Regions from separate parts of the Homo sapiens genome. Here all the other regions are linked to region 1. The links are contacts of gene promoters, found by promoter capture Hi-C in human tissues and cell types (Jung and others, 2019). All regions are on one chromosome and are shown on one strand. Each heading gives the region's core, a stretch centred on a gene start or on the middle of the fragment in contact. The rest is flanking DNA. Distances are from core to core; before and after follow the strand shown. Region 1 holds the start of ALOX12B (arachidonate 12-lipoxygenase, 12R type). Region 2 holds the start of MYH10 (myosin heavy chain 10). Region 3 holds the start of ZBTB4 (zinc finger and BTB domain containing 4).

Region 1 (4,481 bases), core at 1,920-4,419:
CATAACTCCAAAGCCATCATCGATTCAATCCCCAGCCCTGACCTTGTCCTTGTCATTAACCCATTCAACTATGTTTTCGGTGTCTCCCAGGTACCAAGTATGACACCAGGAGATGGGGACAAAACCAAAAAAAAGTATGGACTAATTTATTAGAGAAAACAGACATCAATCAAAGATGTTAGCTATAGTGCTGTGAGAGCCATGTATAGTGAAATTTGGCTTTCCTGGAAAAAGCAATTATTGAGCTAAGATCAGGAGGAAGAGGAAACGTGACCTCAGTTTGAGAGGTAGAGAGGGAACAGCATGTGCCAAGGCCCTGGGATGGTGACGAGCTGACTTCACTTCCTTCAGGTCTTTACTCAAAAGTCTTCTTCCCAAGGAGCCCTCCTTGGCCACTCTGTATCTAAAATATCCTCCTTTTCTTTTTTCTGAGATGGATTTTCGCTTTTGTTGCCCAGGCTTGATAGCAATGGCATGACCTTGGCTCACTGCAACCTCTGCTTCCTGGGTTCAAGCTATTCTCCTGCCTCAGCCCCCGAGTAGCTGGGATTACAGGCATGCGCCACCATGCCCGGCTAATTTTTATTTTTAGTAGAGACGGGGTTACTCCATGTTGGTCAGGCTGGTCCCGAACTCCTGACCTCAGGTGATCCGCCCACCTCAGCCTCCCAAAGTGCTGGGATTACAGGCATGAGCCACCATGCCCGGCACTCCTCTATTTTTTATATTATCCTTCCCTGTTCTCTCTTTTCTCTTCAGCACTTATCACTATTTAACATACTATTTAATGTATTTGGTTACTAGGTAATATTGTCTGCTTCCCTCACTTGAAGGCAAGCTCCATGGGTGCAGGGGTTTGCTTTGATCGCATTGTATTTTCAGGACCTGACACAGCGCTGAACACACAGTAGGGGTTCGGCCAGTGTCTGTTGATGAATGAATGAAAGGCACGTGGTCCCAGACAGAAGAGAGCAAAGGGGAATGTGAGGGGTGAAGCCAATCAGGCAGGCCGTGGGGGCCACGGGAGGGGATGGTGTCACTGTCCCAAAGGTAAAGAGGAGCCACTGCCAGGCTTGATCAGGGTTGGGAGGAGGGAACATAGAGAGTGATGTGAACAGATTTGGGTCTGGAAAAGATCATTTCAATCCCCAACTCCAGCCACATCTGTGTCTCTAACCTAAACCTGAATTGCAGTTTCGACCCCATTCCACATCCAGTCTGGAACCTACTGGAACCTTCTCTTCATCTCACAATCCCAGCCCCCTCTGACCCTAACTTGGCCTGGGCATTGAATGACCTTCCTTCGATGGTGATGGAAGCGTGCCATCAGGGAGGAAAGCAGGGCTATGCTTCCTGGTTGACAGAAGCTGCTCCTCGGAGGTGAAAGGAAAGAGGACAGGTCCAGAAAAAGGGAATAGGAACGTGCCTGCCTCCTCACTCTCCCTGGGTCCCAAATCCTATCTTTGGAGAGTCTATCTCTGACTCTCTCATAATGCTCTTCACCTTACTCCTAACACCTTCTCCCTATCCTGCGGCTCTGACTTCTGTGATTCTATCAGCAACTAGTTCCCAATCCCAACCTCCCACGCTTATTTTCTTCAGAGCACTTAGTATCCAAAATTATAGTGAACAAATTCTTGTTTACTGTTTCTTTCACTTCTTTCCCAGCTATTCCGTAAGCTCCATGTATGTTTCATTTCTTCTCTGCCTCTGCAGTGCCTAGAACGCCGTGCACCGTGCTCACTACATATCTGAGGGAGGAACGACCTGGTTCCCAACAAACACAGTTCCACTGGAGCTCAGCCCTGCCTCCAGCCCTCTTCCTAGCTTCATTCTTTTTTGGGAGGGAAGTGAGGGTATGTACTTTATGAAATTAAAGGATAACACATAATGAAATGAATGAAGTACCCTAGACGCCCCTCAGATCAAGATAAGAACACCTCCAGCAGCCTATATGGCCTCCCTCTGCCAGGGATACTCACCAGTAGAGGTTGTCTGAGAATTGCTCAGTTTTGCTGGTTCTGGAAGTTCCTATCAATGGATAACAGAACGTATCCCCTTTAATGTCTGGCTCTTTTTGCTCAGTATCATCTTTGTGAGACTCATCCGCATTGCAGTTCATTCTTTTTATTCCTGGGTAGAATTCTATTTTATGATTATACCACAAAATATTGATCATATTAATCCATTATTTAACTTAATTCTTTTGTCTTTTTTTTTTGGAGACGGAGTCTTGCTCTGTTGCCCAGGCTGGAGTGCGGTGGCACGATCTCAACTCACTGCAACTTCCGCCTCCTGAGTTCAAGCGATTCTCCTGCCTCAGCCTCCCAAGTAGCTGGGACTACAGGCGCATGCCACCACGCCTGGCTAATTTTTGTATTTTTAGTAGAGACAAGGTTTCACCATGTTGGCCAGGCTGGTCTCGAACTCTTGAGCTCAGGTGACCCACCTGCCTTGGCTTTCTAAAGTGCTGGGATTACAGGCGTGAGCCACCACGCCCAGCTATTTAACTTAATTCTTATGCCCCAGATTTCACTCTGTCTTCTAATTTAGTTTTTTTTTTTTTTTTTTTGGGCTTCTGATTTTATATCCAACTCCAATCCCTCACCAGTGGATCCTGGCCCCACAGGAAGCAACAGATCCCCTTCTCCTACCCTGATCGTTCCTCCCCGCAGCATCTTCAGGCCTTTGGGCACCCATGTGGTCCCCGAGCCCTAGCTTCAACACCTCCCACCCTTCCAGTCACAGACTCTGGGCCCTGGGGCAGAAGGACAGGCCAGCTTTCTCACTGTGGCCACTACCTGTCCCATTTCCCAGAGAGGAATGGCCTGGAGGCTGGCCAGCTGCGCTGCCACTTAGTGCCCCTCCCCCTCCCCTCCCCCGCCCACCAGTGGCCTCAGAACCAATGCAAGTCACTCACTGCCCATGGCCCTGCTTAGTAGGGGTGCCTGGCACTGTAGCCAATGGGGACTGGCAGGAGGAAGGAGCTTATTAGTCTGATAAAGATCTGGGGACCACACCCTGCCCCCTCCCGCAACTTCCCTAGGGCCCTGGCTCAGGCTGGACTGGCTCCCCCACCCTGAAGGCGCCTTCATCCACGGCATCTTCTATCCGCCCTTTCAGAGGCAGGCCCAGTGCCCTGCCTGCTCTTCCTCCCCACCAGCTCCCAGAAGGCTTGGAGCCCAGACACCTGCTCACTCACCACCAGCTGGGCTCCGCCTGGGCCTGCCCGGCACCCACCCCGGCCACCAAGGGCAGCAGCTTTTCCAGAATTTGGCTGGCAGGCCTAGTCACCCCACCTCGCCACCTCACCACTGCACCTCGGAGGCCAGCCCTGTCCACTCCACTCTGTGCCTGGCTTCTCTTGCCTGCCTTGGGCCTTCGTGTGGCCCCTCCACGGTGTCTGGGACTGAGTGCCCCTCTTGCCTCCTGAAGAGCAGCCATGGCCACCTACAAAGTCAGGGTGGCCACAGGCACCGACCTCTTGTCGGGAACACGGGACTCCATCTCACTGACCATTGTGGGGACACAAGGAGAGAGCCATAAGCAGCTGCTGAACCACTTTGGGAGAGACTTTGCAACTGGGGCGGTAAGAGTGTGTGTGTGTGTGTGTGTGTGTGTGTGTCTGTGTGTGTGTGTGTGTGTGTCTGTGTGTGTCTGTGTGTGTCTGTGTGTCTTTGTGGCCCCGGGAGGGGTGAAGGTGCGCAGGGGGAGCCAGGTGAGCTGAGCTTGGCGAGGAGAGGCTGGAGAGCTGAGGCACAGCTCCGAAGGCAGTGGGCTCCCCAGTGGCTCTACACGCCTTGTCCAGAGCTGGCTTCCAGCCCCTCGCCCATGTCCCAGATCTCTGGGCCATCCTTCTCCATCCTGCTCCTTCATCTCTAACCCTTTCAGGCATTCCTCATCTCCCTCCCCATCCTTTTCTTCTCTCTCCCTCTTCCTCAGCCCTCTCTCCCTGTCTCTGCCTATCCTGCATCTCTCTTTTCTCAATCCTTTCCACCTGCTTTCCTTCCCCTTTGCTCTCCTCCCCTTTCTGTCTTACCCCCTCTCCCGCATCCCTCTCTCTTCCATTCTCAGTCACTCTTCCTAATTCAGCTGCCTCCTAACTGTCTCACATTTGCACTGGATTCTCTGTGACTTAAAATGGCATCAGACCAGCCTGTCCAGTGGAAGGCACGCTTTGCGGGTCCTCAGACCTGATTTTCAGTCAGACCCAGCCACCTGCTGCTAGGCGACCTTAATAGGTCACTCTATCTATGTGGCCATTCTGAATATCTGCATCTTCATTGATGAATGGGAGAAGGGGCTGGCTGGGCCTCTCCCCACTCGAAAACTGTAGAGTGGTACCCAAGTCCCCAGGGGTCTGAAGGGTTCCTGCAACCTCAGGTGCCTGGAGAGGGGAGTGGGAGAAGACAGGAGCTGGGGATGGAGAGAAGGAGGGGCTGGAGTCCTACATAGCCCTGGGTAGAGGAATCCAGTAGGAG
Region 2 (4,453 bases), core at 1,730-4,229, 540 kb before region 1:
GCAGCCTAGACCGACAGCAAAAATTACTAGAGAGAGAGAGAGGAGAAAGATTCCTCAGTCTTCTGTAATAAACATGTACACTAGAAAAAGGGACAATTTTCAATCTATTTATAATGCCACATTTTGTTTACAGGAAATCATTATGCTCCATCTTCATGAACGAGTCTTTTAGGTATACATTTGTATCCCCTTTTGAGAGATGAGGTTAAGTAATTTGTGAAAGGCAAAGTTGGATTCAAAGCCAGGTCTATCTGCTTCTAAATCCTGTGCTTTCTTCATCAAGATGGCAGCAAATTCTGGGATGAAGCTACATGGTTGGAACTGGAGTCAGAGGAGGCTGCCTGGGATGGATGATAGATATATAGTGGGGCTAGGTGTTGGGAGAAAAAGAAAGGAAAGAAAGAGATTGCAAGAGTGGTTCCATTCACAAAGAAGTTGGGAAGAGAGAGTTTGAGTAGTGGGAAAGGGTGATAGAAGAAAATAGGTTTGGTACCTTCTGCTTTTGCAGTCCCCCTCTCATCCAGGCAGTTGGACATGTAGGGCCCAAGTGCCAAAGAGCCACCAGGGGGAAAGATACATTTGGGGATATTCTCTTTATTATTAATTTCTCATCAAGACTAATGTCTTTATGGTATTTCCTTCTGGTGAACTTCCTGCCCTCCTCTTCTGATGGTCCATTGAGTTTGTGTTAAAATTATGTGAAAGTTGGCCGGGCACGGTGGCTCATGCCTGTAATCCCAGCATTTTCAGGGGCCGGGTCGGGCGGATCACGAGGTCAAGAGATCGAGGCCAACATCCTGGCCAACATGGTGAAACCCTCTCTCTACTAAAAATACAAAAATTAGCTGGCCGTGGTGGCGCGCGCCTGTAGTCCCAGTTACTAGGGAGGCTGAGGCAGGAGAATCACTTGAACCCGGGAGGCGAAGATTGCAGTGAGCTGAGAACATGCCAGTTCACTCCAGCCTGGTAACAGAGCGAGACTCCATCTCAAAGAAACAAACAAAACAAAACAAAAAAATATATATACACACACATATATATACATATATACATATATATACACATATATATGCAAAAGTTTTTGAATTATGAGAAACTACTGACTCTGTGGCTTACAGTGTTATTCGCGAGTGGATGCACTAAGCATAGAACATTGCACTGAGAAATGACTTCGGTGGCTGACAAAGTGGAGACTCAGGCCTCAGAGAGGGAGTCTTTGGTCTTCTCTAAACACATTTTAAAATTCATTAGAGGAATATCATTCATATATTTTGGAAAGTTAATTTGTACTCCATGTGCAGACTGCATTAGAAGGACAGACCTCTTCACAGAGCCAAGTCACAAGACACCTGGACACGGGGTAGTACCCCAGCAGGCAGGTGGGGGTGGGGGACCAGATGCAGCAGGACAAAGGACAAAACAGAGCCTGGTTCGGACTTCCCCAGGAAGGACTCTGCACTCAGCTGCCTTCCAGCCTCTTCTGAATTCCACCAACCCTTCCTTAGGACTTCCTGCCTTGTTTTTTGCTTAATTCACTTTTTGCCAGACTAGACGTTTCCTAGGCTTAGGCAAACACATCATTATCACATGTATTAAAATGCTCCCATAGCCTACATTAATAACTGATTAATAACTGCATCTTGCTGTGAATTTTTATGATCTTGACTTTCAGGTTTTGTATGAATAATTCATTTTGTTCATGTGATTTAGACTTTATTATATTTATATATAATTATGCAAGAGTTTTGTTGCAGTTGCCTAGATTCTGCAGACATTTCATTAAATTTTATTTACTTTGATTTTTCCAGTTTCCTTTCGTTATTTTGGGGCCACTGTTTTTCAGTCTCCAACGTTTTCATAAGCCCTAGGGGATATGACAGCGCTACAGGAATCCAGCCTTATATTCTTAAGAACCTCTCATAGCCCTTCACGTAGGGAGCTCTGATGAATGAATGAAGGAGCGACTGAACGAGTGAATGAATGAGGTGAATAAAGTTTCTTCCAAGTTTTCTCTCCAAGGTCGGTTCTCTTCTCATTCTTCTGGAATCTCAGCCTTGCCTGGAGGCTGGGCAGGAGAGCCTCTCACCCCGCTAACACCAAAACTGCGACCTTGGAGGACCGTGTCCTGCGCCTGGCGCTCGGCCGATCCCGGCAGAGTCCGCCTGGGGCCGGGGTCGGGACAGTGGCCGCAGCGTGGAGCGCAGCCGGGTCCCGGGCCAAACCCTGTGCGCATGGGCGGAGCAGCGCCCTCCCCCGCGTTCCTTCCCCCACTGCAGGTGAGTCGCAGCGCCGCGGCCCCAACCCCGCGCAGCCCCGGGGGTGACGTCAGGACTCTGGACCGCGCTCCGCCCCGCCCCTGCAGGCAACGCTGAGGGCCCGCGACTCCGCGGTGGAACCCCGTCCCGCTGCGGTACATGCCGGCTGCCGCAAGCACAGGGGGCGACCGGGCGCTCGAATGTGCTGCGGCTGCGGCGGCTGCCTGACGCTAGGACGAGGAGTCTGCAGTCAGAGCGCCAGCCTCCTGCCGCGGCCCACCTGCCCCGCGGCCCGCACAGCCAATGTCAGCGCAGCGCGCCGGCCGCCGCGGGGCCCGCACCCGCAGCCTCGCGGGATCGCCGGGCGTTCAGCCAGCCTCAGCTGTCCATCTACGCACGAGCCAGCCAATCCCGCGCCACTGCCCCGGCCGCACCTCCCGGAGCCTATGACGGGCGTAAGAGCCAGCCCATGAGATTGGGGCCTCTGTGGCCTGGGCTGGGAGCGGGAGCCAATGAGCGTCATTCCAGGTGGGTGGAGGGAGCCGGACTCGGGAAGGTAGCTTCGTTCGGGTTGCTAACGTCTTCCCTTGGAGATGGGCGCGCAAACCAACCAGTGGGTCTGGGGGCGGCGGTGATGGGCGTGGAGCTGGCCCAATGAGGGTAGGGGTGGGTGGGGCAGCCCCGAGCAGCAGTGCTAAAGGAGCCCGGCGGAGGCAGCGGTGGGTTTGGGACTGAGGCGCTGGATCTGTGGTCGCGGCTGGGGACGTGCGCCCGCGCCACCATCTTCGGCTGAAGGTGAGAGGTGCGGCTACCCGGGTCCGAGTGCACGGCCCAGGGCTGGGGGACAGTTTGTGGAGGGAGGAATGGCTCCTGGGCTGAGGGGTCCCGGGCGGCTCTGGAGGACAGGAACGGGGGACCGAAGCGGGAGCTGGGGAAGACAGAGGGGCTTCTGAGCTGTAGGGTTTGTGCTGCGGGGACCTTAGGTTAGTTTGAGCAGGGTCCTGGGCTGGGGGCACTGGGACCTCAGTGGGTGGAGATGGAGAGACTCCCGGAGGAGCGGGGAATGAAGTCCTTGTGAAACCCGCGGGGGTCAGGGCCTGGGTGTGCAGGAGGGCGACCCCTGGGGGGCTGGGGGATGGAGATCTGGGGGTGGGGACGTGAGGACCAGGTTCTCGGTGGGTGGGATCCCTGGGGGCGCGAGGTCGAGGGGCTAGTGTCCCGGCGGAGGTCTCGGCGTGCCCCGCGAGCCAGTGTCTGCCTCCCAGGAAGAGAGGGGATTCTAAGCGGGGCTGGAAAGCGCAGTCCCGGCGGTAGGGTGGGGGGGCGCTGGGCAGGAAGGGCCCCTGCGTGGGTTGCTGGGTGGGTTAGGCCTGGCGCGACCGGTCCCCCGCAGCACCAGAGGGGTTCACCATGGGCTTGGAAGGCGGGCGGCGCGCGCCCGACCCGTGGGTGGAGGGACAGGAGGGCATTGGCTCTGCGCGGCCGGGGAAGCGCGCGGCGGGTGAGGGGCTCCGGAGCCGGCCGCGGGCGTGGGGAGGGTCGGACTCCGCCGGCGCCGGGGAAGGAGCGCGGGAGGAGGGCGTCCTGCCGCGCCCTCCGTGGAGCGCCTAGGCCGGGGGTGGACGCCCTGCGAGGCCCAGGCGGTTTGAGGGGGCGAGGCGGGAAATGTGGCGGGGCGCGCTGCAGCAGGACGGCCGGGGGGAGGGTCAGCACTCGCCTCGGGATCCCTTTATTGTGTAAGCGAGCTGGGAATGGCTCGCCGCAGTCTCTTCATTGCCTTCTGCAGTTGGGGGTCACACCCTGATCCCATAAAATCGGACTGGAATTGGTTCGGAGGGAAGTTGAAGCCGCGGAGTCCTGGCATTTGTGGGGGCTTTGTGGGCCTGTGGTGGGCGGATGCGGCCCTGGGAAGCGGGAGGCCCCCAGCCAGGCCTGTTTGGAACTAGGGCCTTAGGAAGGAGGTTGGCGACTCGGCGGGTCAGACCGGGCTGGTGAGGTTTGGATAACGTGGCCTCTGCCTACAGCCGTTATCTCTGTTTCTTTAGGGCCTCTGCAGCTCCCTTCAAGATCACTGCGGTGGATGGAAGGGGGTGGGGTGGGCTGGGGTGGGGTAGGGGAAAGCAGGCGGGGTAGATGCAGACTGCAGATGAAACAAAGACTGCTGTTTTCGCTGAATAATGTAATACCAAACATAATAC
Region 3 (4,793 bases), core at 1,108-3,607, 610 kb after region 1:
CTGTTAGGGAGAAAGGAGCTCAGGGTAGACAGCAGCCGCAGCCCAGGCGACCTGGGGCAGGGCAGATGCCAGGATGGGGTCTGGGACCCTGTGGGACTGTACAGTGTTGGGCTATCTTGCTGAGGAACTCTTCGGAGCTAGAAAGGGCCTAAAAGATGAGTGAGATGTTATAATGTGGGCCTGGAGCAGGAAGCAAGGAGTGAGCAGTCCTGGAGCATCGTTTCCCTGGGTAAGTTGTTCCTGGGAGGAGAAAAAGGACCCAGGATGCTCTCTCGGATTGAGGAAGGGGAGGAAGCCTCAGATGCTATGCATCTGTATGATGCCACAGGTTCCAGAGACATCTGGGTACACCATTATGAATTCTATTTGTGGGTATCTCTGAGACAGCTAAGTTTTAGGAAAGGAGGGGAAATGGAGCAACCAGGAGCTATAGGGAGGGAGTACTAGGCCCCTGGCCCCCACACTCACCATCTTTCCTTGGACTTTCTCCTCTCCTCCTGGCTCAGGGAGCCTGGGCCCCTCAGAGCTCCAGCCATTGTGACATGGTTGGAGTGGGGGTGGGGTTCTTCCCTGGAACTCTCCTGAGGTGGTAGCACGCCTATTTTCCCGCTGAGTCCAACTCTGCTTCTTTTCTTTCTTTCTTTCTTTTTTTGTTTGCGACGAAGTTTCCACTCTTGTTATCCAGGCTGGAGTGCAATGGTGTGATCTCATCTCACTGCAACCTCCACCTCCCAGATTCAAGCGATTCTCCTGCCTCAGCCTCCCAAGTAGCTGGGATTACAAGAATGTGCCACTACACCTGGCTAATTTTTTTTTTTTTTTTTGGGACGGAGTTTTGCTCTTCTTGCCCAGGCTGGAGTGCAGTGGTGCGTGCAATCTCGGCTCACCGCAACCTCCACCTCCTGGGTTCAAGCAATTCTCCTACCTCATCCTCCCAAGTACCTGGGATTACAGGCATGTGCCACCACACCCCGCTAATTTTTTATTTTTCGTAGAGATGGGGTTTCTCCATGTTGGCCATGCTGGTCTTGAACTCCTTACCTCAAGTGATCCACCCCACCACCCCCCGCCTCCCAAAGTGGTGGAATTACAGGCATGAGCCACCGTGCCCAGCCCAACTCTGCTTCTTTTCTATTTATGTCTCCATGACTCCAAAGTTTGTCTGATTCTTTTATTCTTTTTATGGCTAGCTCTGTGGCTTTACATTAATTTGTTTATTTATATCTTGCATGGTTTCAGAGAGGTTTTTTTGTTGTTGTTTTTTTTTTGAGACGGAGTCTGTCTCTGTCGCCCAGGCTGGAGTGCAGTGGCGAGATCTCGGCTCACTGCAAGCTCCGCCTCCCAGGTTCACGCCATTCTCCTGCCTCAGCCTCCCGAGTAGCTGGGACCACAGGCGCCCGCCACCACGCCCGGCTAATTTTTTTGTATTTTTAGTAGAGACAGGGTTTCACCGTGTTAGCCAGGATGGTCTCGATCTCCTGACCTCGTGATCCGCCCACCTCGGCCTCCCAAAGTGCTGGGATTACAGGCGTGAGCCACCGCGCCCAGCCTCAGAGAGGTTTTAAGGCAAGGAGCTGTGAACCCTGGCTCCTCCATCTCCTTAGTTTTTAATTTTCCAGCACCAGGGAGGAGTTCTTGGGATTGTCCCTGTGGAGTTTCAGGAATGTGTTTTTTCTGTGTGTGCTTCCACCTGGTGTTTTGTTGATGCTGTCCCCAGAGGCCGACACCAAGGCCTCTGCATTTATGTTCAAGTATACAGATGTGGATCTATCTGCTGGTGGGGACAAAGTACCCAGCCAGCTTCATGTGTTCATTTGCGCTGGTGGTCGTTCGTGTGTGCCCCGTATGCAGGGCCAGGGCCTTCTTTTTCCGCGGCCTGCTGAGCTTTCCTGCGCATTCCTGGAGAGGGTGTGTGTGTGTGTCCAGGGCTGGCCCTCTTTGAGTGTGCCGACCCTGGGTCTGTGAGTCCCACCGGGCCTGATTATGAGTCTGCCATGTCATGTCTGCACCCTGAGAGCCTGTGTGTTATGCTTTCAGGCAGTGTGCACCGCTGAGTGAAGGGCGTGCAGGAGGAAGGGCGGAGGGAGCCCTTTCCCTGGGGGTCGGTGGTCTTGCGCCCCTGCCGGGATGCTGCAGCCCGGCCCGCGCCCCGCTCGGTGTCCACCCGCCCGGTGGCCCAGCGCGGCGCAGTGTCATGCCGCGGGGGTCAGTCCTGGGGAAGGCCGTCGGGCGCTCGGAGCTTTGTGTCGGTGTCGGCTGCGCTGCGCCGGCCTCCTCTCGGCGGCGGCGGCGGCGGCGCTGGGGGGGGACTGTTTCCGGGGGTGGGGGTGGGGGTAGGACCGGGGCGGGGGGAGCCGATGATGTCAGCGGCGGCGGCGGCGGCGGCAGCGGGGCCGGGCCGGGGCCAGGCGCTGGGGGGGCCAGGGCCGGAGCTGGAGCCGGAGCCGGAGCTGGAGGCGGGCAAAACCGGAGCGGCCGGGGGCGGCCACGGTGATGAGCCGGGCCTGGCGGACGCGGCGCCATCGCAGTCAGGTGGGCCCTGGGGCGAACTGGGCAGGGCCAGGGCGGACCGGAGCCAACTGCCAGGCCCCCTCTCCGCTGCCCGGCGCTGCGGGAGCCCCGACCGCGCCCCGCGCCCAGACCGCTCTCCTTTGGGGTTGACCTGGGGGCGCAGGGGTCGGGGGCTGAGCCTGGCCCCGCCCCCGGGCGCGCACGACGCTGGGGGGCGACTAAGGGGGCCCTGGTATGGCGTCCGAGCGAGGGGCGGCCGTGGGACGCGATCGCCTGGGGCCGTGGAAGGGGAGGTGCTCACTCCCTCTTTGAAGGGTTAATTCTGCAGCCTAATGGCCCCCTCCCCCCGTGGGGCAGATTGGGGGTGGGGTGGGGCGGGTGTGAGCCCGGGCAAGCGCTGCAAGCTGCTGGGAGGGTGATGGCGTAGGAGCCAGGCAGAGAGGGGGAGGGGTGGGCCGCCGAGCGCCCCAGAGTTGGGGTGTGCGGGGTGCGCAGGGCGAGCTGGGGCCCCGGAACCGCCGCGCCGTCGGGGCAGGGTTGTGGCTGTGAGTCTTGGAGATCGTGTGTCTTGTGCTGTGTGGTGGGGCAAGGTAAACCTCTCCTGGGCACCACCGTTTGCTGGCAGCCAGGGGTCTGGGTAGGGCCCTCCCTGGGCCATGGAGATAGAAAGCCAGGAAGGGTGTCCAGTGTTGTGGGGCAGAGTTACAAGACGAGCCCTGTGGCTTTGGGTGACAGATGGGTATTCTGAGCAGGGCACAGCATGCTGGGTGCAGAGTTTGTTCGATGTGGGGCTGTATGTTTTCTACAGCATGTGTTTTCTCGCATGTGTGTCTTGTGCTGCACCTATGACCTGTTTATGAACTGTTTTCTGCAGAGCTGGCATGCTGTATGTGTTGCGGAGGGTGCCAGGATGCAGTGTATGTGCCCTTTTGGAGGGGGCGGTTGTGGGCCTTTGAGTCAGAAGGCGTCACGTCTGGGTCCCATTTCTGTGGCCCTGCTGAGGTGTGGTCCAGTGGTGAAGAGGGCGATGGATGGGTTTGCGTGTCTGTGATGAGCGCGTTGCATGGGGGCTGCGCGTCTAGAACTCAGATCCCAAAGATCATGAGAGGAGCGAGGAACCCCGGGGTATGTCTCAGGGGCCTGTGGGTCAGTTGGCACTGGTGTGAGGGGCTCGAGGTGGAATGCGCCAGTTGTGTTTATGGGATCATGGGCAGCCAAGCGAGGGGAAGGTTGTGTGTTTGCAACATTCTCCACAGGATTCTTTTGTGACGTTGTTTGTAGGAGCCTGTCTGGGCTGCTGAGCTGGGAGGCAAACTGGTCAGAAAACACATGTGGGGAGGGAGGTGGCGTGACAAGGGCAGTGTGGGCCTCAGACCCAAGAGGCCAGCCGCAAGCAGGCTGTGTGTGCGTGCCTGCCGTCTGTGTGCTTAAGTGGCGGTGGGGCTGCGGAGGGGATTTGGTATGAGGAAGGCGGGAGATAAATGCAGGGTAGCGCATGGAGGCCGGCGGGAGGCATGGGTGTTGTCAGATGGCCCAGCTAATCTTTGCAGGGTCTGTATGTTTGCCCCTCATGAGCCTGCCCAGCGTGTCAGGGTCACCCGGAGGAGAGGCTGGGCGGCCACAAGGGAAGTAAGCTTAGACAGAGAGGCTCCTTGGCCATGTTTATGTAAAGGCTGGGTGTGACTCTTGTCACTAAAATGGAAAAAAGAAACGTGAAGTTTTCAGCCTCCTCCTGCTTCACCCTCTCCCTCTCTCTGCCCCCCTTGTGGGTATCTCTGACGCACACTGGGCCCCACTCCTGCGACGGTGGAAGGGCCTCAGAACAGAATTCGCTCACTAGGCAGATTCCTCAGAACAGGTTTTCCTCACCTTTGGGGACTGGGCCCTTCTAGGGGTGTGTGTGCAAGTGCATTCCAAGCCTGCACACCACTGTCTACTGTGCCCGGCCCCACTGGAAGGATGTGTGTACGTGGGGGAAGGGAGGGTGCTGCGGACAGGCCCTCCGGCATGGGGGGCTGGGAAGGGGTGGCTGCCGTGGGAGCCTGCTCAACAGGTGCACAGTGACGGTCTGGTGAAGAGAAAGGAGCCATGGTCCAGGGCTGAGGAGCTCTGGCGTCTTTACCATTCCCTCACTGGCACTTGATCTGAAGGAAGCTCAGTTCCTCATCTGCAGAATGGGGCTGATTGTCTGCCCTGCGTATCTTCCAAAAGCACATGGGAAACGGACCCGGAAAGTGGCTATAGTCTGGGGGCTGTGCCTATGCCAGCCCCTGTCAGCCCTC

What was found. The method cuts DNA at HindIII sites, captures the fragments that hold promoters and counts their contacts. A contact is called where the count stands out against the background at its distance.
Region 2: a contact is called between the fragment with the promoter of MYH10 here and the fragment with the promoter of ALOX12B in region 1, in 1 of the 25 tissues and cell types used here (stomach).
Region 3: a contact is called between the fragment with the promoter of ZBTB4 here and the fragment with the promoter of ALOX12B in region 1, in 1 of the 25 tissues and cell types used here (small bowel).

Annotation. Positions count from the first base shown.
Region 1 is chr17:8,086,404-8,090,884 of GRCh38, reverse strand. It overlaps ALOX12B (arachidonate 12-lipoxygenase, 12R type), which reads left to right and starts at 3,169. Exons shown (of 15, transcript NM_001139.3): 1 at 3,169-3,589. The coding sequence starts at 3,443. MIR4314 (microRNA 4314) reads right to left here and starts at 2,829; the gene lies at 2,738-2,829. RefSeq lists an enhancer at 3,393-4,141. The HindIII fragment of the contact is 32,393 bases long and covers 1-4,481 here.
Region 2 is chr17:8,629,251-8,633,703 of GRCh38, reverse strand. It overlaps MYH10 (myosin heavy chain 10), which reads left to right and starts at 2,979. Exons shown (of 43, transcript NM_001256012.3): 1 at 2,979-3,050. RefSeq lists enhancers at 1,279-1,573, 2,272-3,049, 3,050-3,827, 3,828-4,453 and a silencer at 2,108-2,787. The HindIII fragment of the contact is 16,199 bases long and covers 1-4,453 here.
Region 3 is chr17:7,477,195-7,481,987 of GRCh38, reverse strand. It overlaps ZBTB4 (zinc finger and BTB domain containing 4), which reads left to right and starts at 2,357. Exons shown (of 4, transcript NM_001128833.2): 1 at 2,357-2,532. SLC35G6 (solute carrier family 35 member G6) reads right to left here and starts at 542. Exons shown (of 2, transcript NM_001102614.2): 1 at 469-542. The coding sequence starts at 471. RefSeq lists silencers at 2,001-2,260, 2,281-2,740, 3,001-3,050. The HindIII fragment of the contact is 10,425 bases long and covers 1-4,768 here.